Linked DNA regions of Homo sapiens: region 1 is linked to region 2. The links are contacts of gene promoters, found by promoter capture Hi-C in human tissues and cell types (Jung and others, 2019). All regions are on one chromosome and are shown on one strand. The core of a region is centred on a gene start or on the middle of the fragment in contact, and the rest is flanking DNA. Distances in the headings are between cores, read along the strand shown. Region 1 overlaps LOC112268136 (a long non-coding RNA gene). Region 2 holds the start of CLEC14A (C-type lectin domain containing 14A).

Evidence for each region. The method cuts DNA at HindIII sites, captures the fragments that hold promoters and counts their contacts. A contact is called where the count stands out against the background at its distance.
Region 1: a contact is called between a fragment that was not itself captured here and the fragment with the promoter of CLEC14A in region 2, in 1 of the 25 tissues and cell types used here (neural progenitor cells).

The regions. Positions count from the first base shown.
Region 1 is chr14:38,299,289-38,304,927 of GRCh38, reverse strand. The region is part of intron 4 of LOC112268136 (a long non-coding RNA gene); the gene reads right to left. Among named protein-coding and RNA genes, the nearest start is that of CLEC14A, 46 kb to the right of the region's middle. The HindIII fragment of the contact is 5,182 bases long and covers 680-5,639 here.
Region 2 is chr14:38,253,420-38,258,612 of GRCh38, reverse strand. CLEC14A (C-type lectin domain containing 14A) reads left to right here and starts at 2,520. Exons shown (of 1, transcript NM_175060.3): 1 at 2,520-4,613. The coding sequence starts at 2,591. The coding sequence ends at 4,063. LOC112268136 (a long non-coding RNA gene) reads right to left here and starts at 2,568. Exons shown (of 5, transcript NR_169588.1): 1 at 2,168-2,568. RefSeq lists an enhancer at 2,711-3,338. The HindIII fragment of the contact is 7,223 bases long and covers 1-5,193 here.

The DNA.
Region 1 (5,639 bases), core at 2,021-4,520, 46 kb before region 2:
TGGGTGTCAGAATAATGCTGGCCTCATAGGATGAGTTGAGAAGGAGGCTCTCTACCTCAATTTTTGGGAATAGTTTCAGCAGAAACTGTGGCAGCTCTTCTTTATATGTCTGGTAGAATTTGGCTGGAAACTGTCAGATCCTGGGCTTTTTCTGGTTGGTAGGATTTTTATTACTGATTCGATCTTGGAACTCATTATTGGTGTGTTCAGGTTTCAATTTCTTCTTGGTTCAATCTTGGAAGGCTGTATATTTCTAGGAATTTATCAATTTCTTGTAGGTTTTCTAGTTTCTGTGTATAGAGGTGTTTGTAACAGCTTCTGAGGTTTCTTGTATTTTTGTGGGGTCAGTAGTAATGTCGCCTTTTTCATTTCTGATTGCATTTATTTGGGTCTTCTCTCTTTTTTCTTTTTAGTCTAGCTAGCAGTCTATAAATGTAATTTTTTCTTTCAATAACCAACTTATGGTTTCATTGATCTTTTGTATGGCTTTTCACATCTTAATTTCATTTAGTTAAGTTCTGATTTTTGTTATTTTTTGTCTTCTGCTAGCTTTGGGGTTAGTTTGCTCTTGTTTTTCTTGATTTCTTCAATGATCTATGTACTTAAGTGTGTTTTTGTGGTTGCTAGTGATGGTTTTTTTTCATATTTAACACTCCCTTAAAGACCTCTTGTAAGGCAAGGTGTGGTGTTAGGCTGTGAATTTGAGATCTTTCTACTTTTTTGATGTGGGCATTTAATGCTATAAACTTTCCTCTTAACACTACTTTAGCTGTGTCCCACAGATTCTGGCATGTTGTATCTTTGTTCTCATTAGTTTCAGAGAATTTCTTGCTTTCTGCCTTAATTTCATTATTTACCCAGAAGTCATTCAGGAACAGGTTGTTTAATTTCCATGTTATTGTATGGCTTTGGGTGATATTCTTAGCATTGGTTTCTATTTTTATTACACTGTGATCTAAGAGTGTTGTTGGTATAATTTCATTTTTTTTTAATTTGCAGAAAATAGTTTTATGGCCAATTGTGTGGTTGATTTTACAGTATGTGCCATGTGCAGATGAGAATAATATATATTCTGTTGGTTTTGGTTGGAGAGTTCTGTAGATGTCTTTTAGGTCCATTTGGTCAAGTGTCAAGTTTAGGTCCCAAATGTCTTTGTTGTTTCTCTGCCTCAGTGATCTATCTAATACTGCCATGGGGGTGTTGAAGTCTCCCACTATTATCATGTGGTTATCTAAGGCTCTTTTAAATCTCTAAGAACTTGTTTTATAAATCTGGATGCTCCTGTGTTGGGTGTATATATATTTAGGATAGTTAAGAGTTCCTGTTGAGTTGAACCCTTTGCCATTCTGTAATGCTCTTATCTTTTTGATCATTGTTGGTTTAAAGTCTTGTTTTGTCTGAAATTAGAATAGCAACCCCTGATTTTTGTTGTTGTCTGTTTGCTTGGTAGATTTTTTTCCATTTCTTTACTTTAACCCTATGAGTGTCATTGAATGTGAGATTAATCTCTTGAAGACAGCATACAGTTGGGTCTTGCTTCTTTATCGAACTTGTCACTCTGTGCCTTTTAATTAGGGCACTTAGCCCATTTACATTGAAGGTTAATATTGATACATGTGGATTTGATCCTGTTATTGTGGTGTTACTGGTTACGATGTAGACTTAATTGTGTAGTTGCTTCATATTGTCAATGATCTATGTACTTAAGTGTGTTTTTGTGGTTGCTAGTGATGGTTTTTTGTTTCCATATTTAGCACTCCCTTAATGACCTCTTGTAAGGCAGATCTTGTGGTAACACATTACCCTAGCATTTGCTTGCCTGAAAAGGATCTTATTTCTTCTTTGCTTATGAAGCTTAGTTTGGCCAGATATGAAATTCTTCATTGGAGTTTGTTTTCTTTAAGAGTGCTGAATATGGACCCCAATCTCTACTCACTTGTAAGTTTTCTGCTGGAAGGTCTGCTGTTAGCCTGATGGAGTTCCCTGTGTAGGTGACTTGCCCTTTCTCTCTAGTTGTCTTTAATATTTATTCTTTCATATGAACATTGGAGAATCTGAGGGCTTTGTTTCTTGGGGATGGTCACCTTGTATAGCATCTTGGAGGGGTTCTCTGCATTTCCTGAATTTGAACATTGGCTGCTCTCTTGAGGTTGGGGAAATTTTTGTGGACAATATCTTCAAATATTGTTTTATTTATTCCTTAGATTTCTTGGATTCAGTTTCAACTTTCTCCTGAATCTTGATGATCTTTGTTTCTATCCATATTCTAAATTCTATGTCTATCATTTTGGCCTGGTTAAGAACTATTGCTGGGGAGCTAGTGAAATCATTTGGACTCAAGAAAACACCCTAGCTTTTTGAGTTGCCAGAGTTCTTGTGCTGACCTTTCTGATCTGTGTGGGCTGATGGTCCTTTTATCTTTGAAGTTGCTGTCCTTTGGATTTTTTTTTTAACTTTTATTTTTAGTGCCCTTGAGAGTTTGACTGTGATATCAGGTGGGTTTAGTAGACTATCTTCAATTCTGGAAGATTTCGGGAGACCAAGGCTCAACTCAGCGCTGTTCAGCTGTGTGCTCTAACTCTGGGGCACTGGCAGGGGGTAGGGTGTCAGTTGGGCAGGGTGCTAGCAGGGGTGAGTTTCCAGCACCTGTGCAAGCACTTACTCCAGCAGCAGCAGTGGAAGCAGTGCAGTGGGCTGCCCACACCTCAGTAGGGGTGGACTGCCAGCAAGGGTGGGTGGGGTGGCAGGATGAACTTGCTCTGATGGTTGGTGAAGTGGTGAGGTGTGCACACACATGCATACCATTGGGGATGTGATAGTGAGGTTTGGTTACATGAATGCACTTGCAAAGCAGTGGGAGAAGACCATGGGTGAGTGCATGTGGCAAAGACCCAAGGGGAGGCTGTAGTGGGGGCAGGACGTGTATGAGTCAGAGAAGCTGGAGCTCTCCAATGGTCAGGGATGGTACCAGCAAAGGAGCTATGATGAGGGCACCTGAGAATCACCCTGGTTGTGCATCCAAGGCAGTGCTGTAATTGGGGGTGGGTAGGCTGGTTGTCCAGGAGAGGCTAGGAAACAGGGAACCCCATTTCATAGACAAGATGTTCTTGCTCTGTCCAGGTTCAACAGTCACTCAAAGGCTAGGGACACCTAGAGGAGCTTGGAGAGCGTTGGGGGTTGAGCATTCTTGGCCATGCTCCATTGCAGACCTTCCTGCACCAAACCCTATAGGTTCCACACAGGCTGGAGTCCTGCCCCTGCCATCTCTCTAAACAGCTCTCCCTGCCAGCTCCAGTGTCCATGTGGATGGTGGGCTTTCTGCAGCTAGGATTCCAGAGGTCTGTGGTGAGAGTGAGCCACTCCTCACCTGTTCAACTCACTCCTTCCCCAGGAGTCACTGGAGGCCTGCAGTAGGTCCCAGTGCTTTGCAGCCCCAGCGTTCCCAGCTTCCTCTCCCATCAGTCCAATGTCTGTGTCCTCCCTTGGTCCACTCTCAGTGTTTTCCCTCTGAAGATCTGCTCAAAGTGTGCCAGTCGTCCTGATGTCCTGGTCTTTTGGTAAGAGTTGTTCCTTCTGGCTGTGTCTAGTCAGCCATCTTGGCTCTCTCTCCTGTCTTGATTAGTGTATTTAGACTACTATTATTGATATAGCTGGATTAATATCTACCATATTTGCTATCATTTTCTAGTTATTGTCTTTGTCCTTTTCCCCCTTTTTTTATGTTCTACTCTTCTTCTGCCTTTTGTGATTTAAACTGAACATTTTATATGATTCCATTTTCTCTTCTTTCTTAGCACATCAATAATATTTCTTTTGTTACTTTTTTTTAGCGGTTGTCCTAGAGTTTGCAACACACCTTTACAGCTAACAAAAGTCTGCTGTCAAATAACACTATACCACTTCACAGGCAGTGCAAGTACTTTATTAAAACAAAATATCCCTAATTCCTCCTCATGTCTTTTACATCATTGATGTCATTCATTTCACTTATATATACAATGTAATTATCAAATGCATTATTGCTATTATTTAGAACAAACTGTTATCCATTACATCAATTAAGAATGAGAAAAGTATTTTAGTTTTGCCTCTACTTATTCATTGTCTGATGTTTTTCCTTTCCTTATACAGTTCTAAGTTTTTGAACAATATCAGTTTCCTTCTTTTAGAAAACTTATTTTAAGATTTCTTGCAAGACAGCTTTACTGGCAACATATTCCTTCTCTCTGAGGTGGACTTTTCCCTTTACTTTTGAAGAATAATTTTGCAAACCTTAGAATTCTAGGTTGGTGCTTATTTTCTCTCAAAATCTTAAATATTTTACTCCACTTTCTTCCTATTTGCATGGTTTTTAAGGAGCAGTCAGATATAATTCTTATCTTTGCTCTTCTATAACTAAGGTTTCGTATTCTTCTAACTTCTCTTAGGATTTTTTCACTATCTTTGATTTTTTTGTAGTTTGAATATAATATTCCTATGTGTAGTGTTTTGGGCATTTATTCTGCCTGATGTTCTCTGAGCTTCCTAGATCTGTAGTTTGGTGTCATTTCAGGAGGAAATTCTCAGTCATTATTGCTTCAAATATTTCTTCTGTTTCCTTTTATTTCTTTTCCTTCTGGTTTTCCCATTACATGGATATTACATCTTTTGTAGTTGTTTTACAGTTCTTGGATATGTGTTCTACTTTTTTCAATTTTTTTTTTTAATTTTCAGTTTTAGAAGTTTCTATCGTCACATCCTCGAGCTCAGAGATTCTTTTCTCAGCCATGTCCAATCTACTAATAAGCCCATCAAAGGTCTCTTCATTTCAATTACAGTGTTTTTTATCTCTAGCATTTATTTTCGCTTCTATCTAAGAAGTTCTATTTTCTATTTATATTATTCATCTGTTCTTGCACGTTGTCTACTTTTCTCATTACAGCCCTTAGCTTATTAATCATAATTATTTTTAAAATTTATGCTCTGATGATTCCAACATCCCTGCTGTATCTGGGTCTCGTTCTGATGCTCGCAATGACTGCTCAAACTGTGCTTTTTGCCTTTTAGTGTGCCTTGCATTTTTTTGGTGCTGTTGAAAGGTGGACAAGATGTACTGTGTAGAAGGAACTCTGGTAAATAGACTTTTAGTAATGTGGTGGCGAGATGTAGAAGGAAGAGAAGTGTTGTATGATTACATGATTAGGTTTCAGTTATTTACAGAGCTTGTGCTACTGAATTGTGAGCTTCACAAGTGCTTCTCAGATTGGTATTTTTTTTTCAGCACCGTAGGTAGTTCAGGATAGAAGGGATGGGAGTTGGCTATTTTTCTTCCCCCCAAGTCAGTTAGGATAAAAAAAAAATCATCTTGAGGTCAGGTCTTGTTAAGAACAGAATGCTCTGGTATATTTGAAAATGGTCACTTTTGGGCTGGGCGCGGTGGCTCACGCCTGCAATCCCAGCACTTTGGGAGGCCGAGGCGGGCGATCACGAGGTCAGGAGATCGAGACCATCCTGGCTAATACGGTGAAACCCCGTCTCTACTAAAAATACAAAAAATTAGCTGGGTGTAGGCGCGGGCGCCTGTAGTTCCAGCTACTCGGGAGGCTGAAGCAGGAGAATGCCGTGAACCCAGGAGGCGGAGCTTGCAGTGAGCCGAGATC
Region 2 (5,193 bases), core at 1,271-3,770:
TGTTAATATGAATAGTGTCACTATAAACATTTTTTACATATCTTCTGTTGTACATGTGCAAAAATTTCTCTTAGTTTTATACCTTATCATGGAAGTGCTAGAGTTTGCAAATATTCAATTTTAGTGAAAAAAAGTGTCAAATTTTTCCAAAGTGGTTGCTCTAATCTGTAACATGTAAAAGAGCCAATAGATTCACATTTGGTATTATAAGATTTTTAGGCATTTGGAATCCAGTGGGGGTAAAATGGTTCTATATTATTATCTTAATAAATATTATTAAAAAATAGAAACTTTCCTCCATTTCTAATTTGGTCAGATAAACTGTCTATTTCAAACTAATTACAAAACTATTTACGTCCTACTTTGAGCTAATTTTTTCTAACTCTTGTGTCATTCCATGATATGGTCATGGTCATGGTCAGTACTCTCATATAGTCGTTATGGCCAATGTGTTCTCTGCTATAATCCCACTCCCCTAGACAGAATGTCAGGGAGTGAGATCATGTATTTACTTAAGCTTTCCAGCTATTCATTCTTTCTTACTGTAGACACCTCATCTCATCCCAAACGATTTTTAAAGCTATCTAAGAAATTTCCATTGACTACTTAAGTTTGAAAAAGATTTTATTAAAAATATTGCACTACATGGACACATTTACAAACACAGTCATAAGATTGCAATGGTCTATAGAGAGCTGGCCCAAGTGACTAAGTATTTTTTAAAAACCATTCAATTTGATTTCTGGATTTTCATGTTTCTTTCTTATAAGACACTAAGTTACCTAATTTAAACGCAAAGCCACGTTTAAGGTGATTCTCAGACATCTGAAGGAAGGACTAAGGAATGTTCTTTAAATTGGGAAATAGGGCAGGAGAGAAATCCTAGTGCAAAGCTCCATACTCAGCAAAAGCAAGGTAAGTATGATGATGACTCATAGGCTTACTGTTGTTTGTTAAGATACATGGAATTTCCAGGAGGAAAGAAGAATGAGAGTTATGGTAAAAATAAGATGGAAGCATACAGATGTGATCCTGAAACCTTCCCTCCCACCCCTCATCAACCTGAATGCAGTAAAACAAAGTGAGCTTATATGCATTATCCATGGAATGGCAACTTTCATTCTGATTAAAGATATTTAAAAGCATCAGACATCTCTAAGAGGGCTTAGCTGAAACTCTCTATGTATTTCTGATGGCAACGTATTTGGCCATTATGAACCAAGATAGAATGTACGTTTTCTAAACTGATACTGAATTGTCTAAGTTGCTAACAAGAAATCCTTTCATAACAGTACAGTTTTTAACCTTTACTTCTTTATTCATCTTTAATTCCTTGCCACTTCCCACTGAGTTGAAATGTTTATATTAAAACAAAACACCCACTGGAATTCTAAAGAAATTGGCTCACCCATCTTTCAAATTACAAGATATTTTTTGACAGTATACAATATTCATTATAATGGAATAAACATTTTAATTTCTTAAGGAACTCTAATTTTCCTTAAAGGAGATGTTTACAACTTACTATTATAAATGCTGCCACTCAATCATAGGAGAAAATGATACTAAAATAGTTCAAGGCTAAAATCACACATAGGGCAGTTGTTCTCGAATATTTATAAGGCCACGAACTCATTTATGTATAACCTATAAACTTGAAGAATTTTTGAACCAATACAGTGGCAAGGAAAGCTAACAACCTAACTGTTAAGATCTATGGTCATTATTTTTCATTTAGTCCTAGAAATACATTTCCTTTCTGTAATGAATCAATATGGTCTAACTCAAAGAGAAACACGTGGAAGTGAAAAATAAATTTCTAAAGCAAGTGCTGATGGAAGAAGCAGAATTTCCCATTTAAAATACCCAAACAACTCCAAATTCTTTAGTAGTTAGGACTCCTGAAATCTCTTGACATAATAGAGAAGCAAAGACCCATAGAGAGATATGCGGTTAAATAGTGCTGCCTCTGGTGGCAAAAGCAGTTGCTAAGTTGTTTCACAACATATTTTTCCCCCACAGGCACAGGCCCCCCAAACACTGGAGCCGTCTACGAATTATTCTGACGCTAACTCCACAGCTCCGGACAGAAACACAATAGACGGGCGTGGTCTTATAATCATAAGCCAGTTCCTTTCTCAAGTCCTTCCTGCCTATGTTCGCTTACGTGTTATGGGTTCTGCGGTCCTGATGAAACTCCCTGAACGGAGAAAAACCACACACTTCATCCCAGTGGCGAATTTCTCCTCTTGCTCTAAGCAGGGTGTTTGACCTTCTAGTCGACTGCGTCCCCTGTACCCGGCGCCAGCTGTGTTCCTGACCCCAGAATAACTCAGGGCTGCACCGGGCCTGGCAGCGCTCCGCACACATTTCCTGTCGCGGCCTAAGGGAAACTGTTGGCCGCTGGGCCCGCGGGGGGATTCTTGGCAGTTGGGGGGTCCGTCGGGAGCGAGGGCGGAGGGGAAGGGAGGGGGAACCGGGTTGGGGAAGCCAGCTGTAGAGGGCGGTGACCGCGCTCCAGACACAGCTCTGCGTCCTCGAGCGGGACAGATCCAAGTTGGGAGCAGCTCTGCGTGCGGGGCCTCAGAGAATGAGGCCGGCGTTCGCCCTGTGCCTCCTCTGGCAGGCGCTCTGGCCCGGGCCGGGCGGCGGCGAACACCCCACTGCCGACCGTGCTGGCTGCTCGGCCTCGGGGGCCTGCTACAGCCTGCACCACGCTACCATGAAGCGGCAGGCGGCCGAGGAGGCCTGCATCCTGCGAGGTGGGGCGCTCAGCACCGTGCGTGCGGGCGCCGAGCTGCGCGCTGTGCTCGCGCTCCTGCGGGCAGGCCCAGGGCCCGGAGGGGGCTCCAAAGACCTGCTGTTCTGGGTCGCACTGGAGCGCAGGCGTTCCCACTGCACCCTGGAGAACGAGCCTTTGCGGGGTTTCTCCTGGCTGTCCTCCGACCCCGGCGGTCTCGAAAGCGACACGCTGCAGTGGGTGGAGGAGCCCCAACGCTCCTGCACCGCGCGGAGATGCGCGGTACTCCAGGCCACCGGTGGGGTCGAGCCCGCAGGCTGGAAGGAGATGCGATGCCACCTGCGCGCCAACGGCTACCTGTGCAAGTACCAGTTTGAGGTCTTGTGTCCTGCGCCGCGCCCCGGGGCCGCCTCTAACTTGAGCTATCGCGCGCCCTTCCAGCTGCACAGCGCCGCTCTGGACTTCAGTCCACCTGGGACCGAGGTGAGTGCGCTCTGCCGGGGACAGCTCCCGATCTCAGTTACTTGCATCGCGGACGAAATCGGCGCTCGCTGGGACAAACTCTCGGGCGATGTGTTGTGTCCCTGCCCCGGGAGGTACCTCCGTGCTGGCAAATGCGCAGAGCTCCCTAACTGCCTAGACGACTTGGGAGGCTTTGCCTGCGAATGTGCTACGGGCTTCGAGCTGGGGAAGGACGGCCGCTCTTGTGTGACCAGTGGGGAAGGACAGCCGACCCTTGGGGGGACCGGGGTGCCCACCAGGCGCCCGCCGGCCACTGCAACCAGCCCCGTGCCGCAGAGAACATGGCCAATCAGGGTCGACGAGAAGCTGGGAGAGACACCACTTGTCCCTGAACAAGACAATTCAGTAACATCTATTCCTGAGATTCCTCGATGGGGATCACAGAGCACGATGTCTACCCTTCAAATGTCCCTTCAAGCCGAGTCAAAGGCCACTATCACCCCATCAGGGAGCGTGATTTCCAAGTTTAATTCTACGACTTCCTCTGCCACTCCTCAGGCTTTCGACTCCTCCTCTGCCGTGGTCTTCATATTTGTGAGCACAGCAGTAGTAGTGTTGGTGATCTTGACCATGACAGTACTGGGGCTTGTCAAGCTCTGCTTTCACGAAAGCCCCTCTTCCCAGCCAAGGAAGGAGTCTATGGGCCCGCCGGGCCTGGAGAGTGATCCTGAGCCCGCTGCTTTGGGCTCCAGTTCTGCACATTGCACAAACAATGGGGTGAAAGTCGGGGACTGTGATCTGCGGGACAGAGCAGAGGGTGCCTTGCTGGCGGAGTCCCCTCTTGGCTCTAGTGATGCATAGGGAAACAGGGGACATGGGCACTCCTGTGAACAGTTTTTCACTTTTGATGAAACGGGGAACCAAGAGGAACTTACTTGTGTAACTGACAATTTCTGCAGAAATCCCCCTTCCTCTAAATTCCCTTTACTCCACTGAGGAGCTAAATCAGAACTGCACACTCCTTCCCTGATGATAGAGGAAGTGGAAGTGCCTTTAGGATGGTGATACTGGGGGACCGGGTAGTGCTGGGGAGAGATATTTTCTTATGTTTATTCGGAGAATTTGGAGAAGTGATTGAACTTTTCAAGACATTGGAAACAAATAGAACACAATATAATTTACATTAAAAAATAATTTCTACCAAAATGGAAAGGAAATGTTCTATGTTGTTCAGGCTAGGAGTATATTGGTTCGAAATCCCAGGGAAAAAAATAAAAATAAAAAATTAAAGGATTGTTGATAACCCAGACTCAAATATCATTGCCTTCCTCCAGGAGTAATTAGGAACAGCTGAGGGCATGCTGGGAGTAAGCAGCAAGAGTGCATTCTGCTTTTAGATTGAGGGAGAGGTCCTTAAGTTCCTCGAATGAGACACAGATCTTTAAGAACTAGTAACTTTTTCATTGATTCTTTTATCCTTTCTTTTCAAAGTCACTGCTACTTGTGTGCTTTGCTATAAATCGAAAGTGTAGTGTTGCCAGAATTGCTGGCTCTGGAAGAAAATTACAGTTGACCACCAGTTCAAGTGTTTACTTTATGTCCATGCCCAAGGAAAACACATAATTTGCGTTTTCCCTTTCCAGTGTTTGTGCTTTCCAGCGTAATGACCTCCCCAAGCAAATAGCCCTCTCCTGAACATCAAGATGCTCATCCTCATCTTCAATTATGGTGATGTTAATTCTCAATTAAAATGTTAATGCTAAGTATTGATTTGCAATCTTCTGGTTGCATCAAAGAAAAAGTAAGCTGGTTTTCCTCCAAAGTTGCTAAGTTCTTGTGCATTTTTCAACCCATGGAAAAACTTGAACACCAAGCCATTTTCTTTTTCTCTTGATAAGAATGTGTGCAATAACAATACTTGCTCATTTTGGAGTGATTATAATCTTACAAGTGTTTACATGGGCAAAGGCATGGTAAACAGTTTACCATAA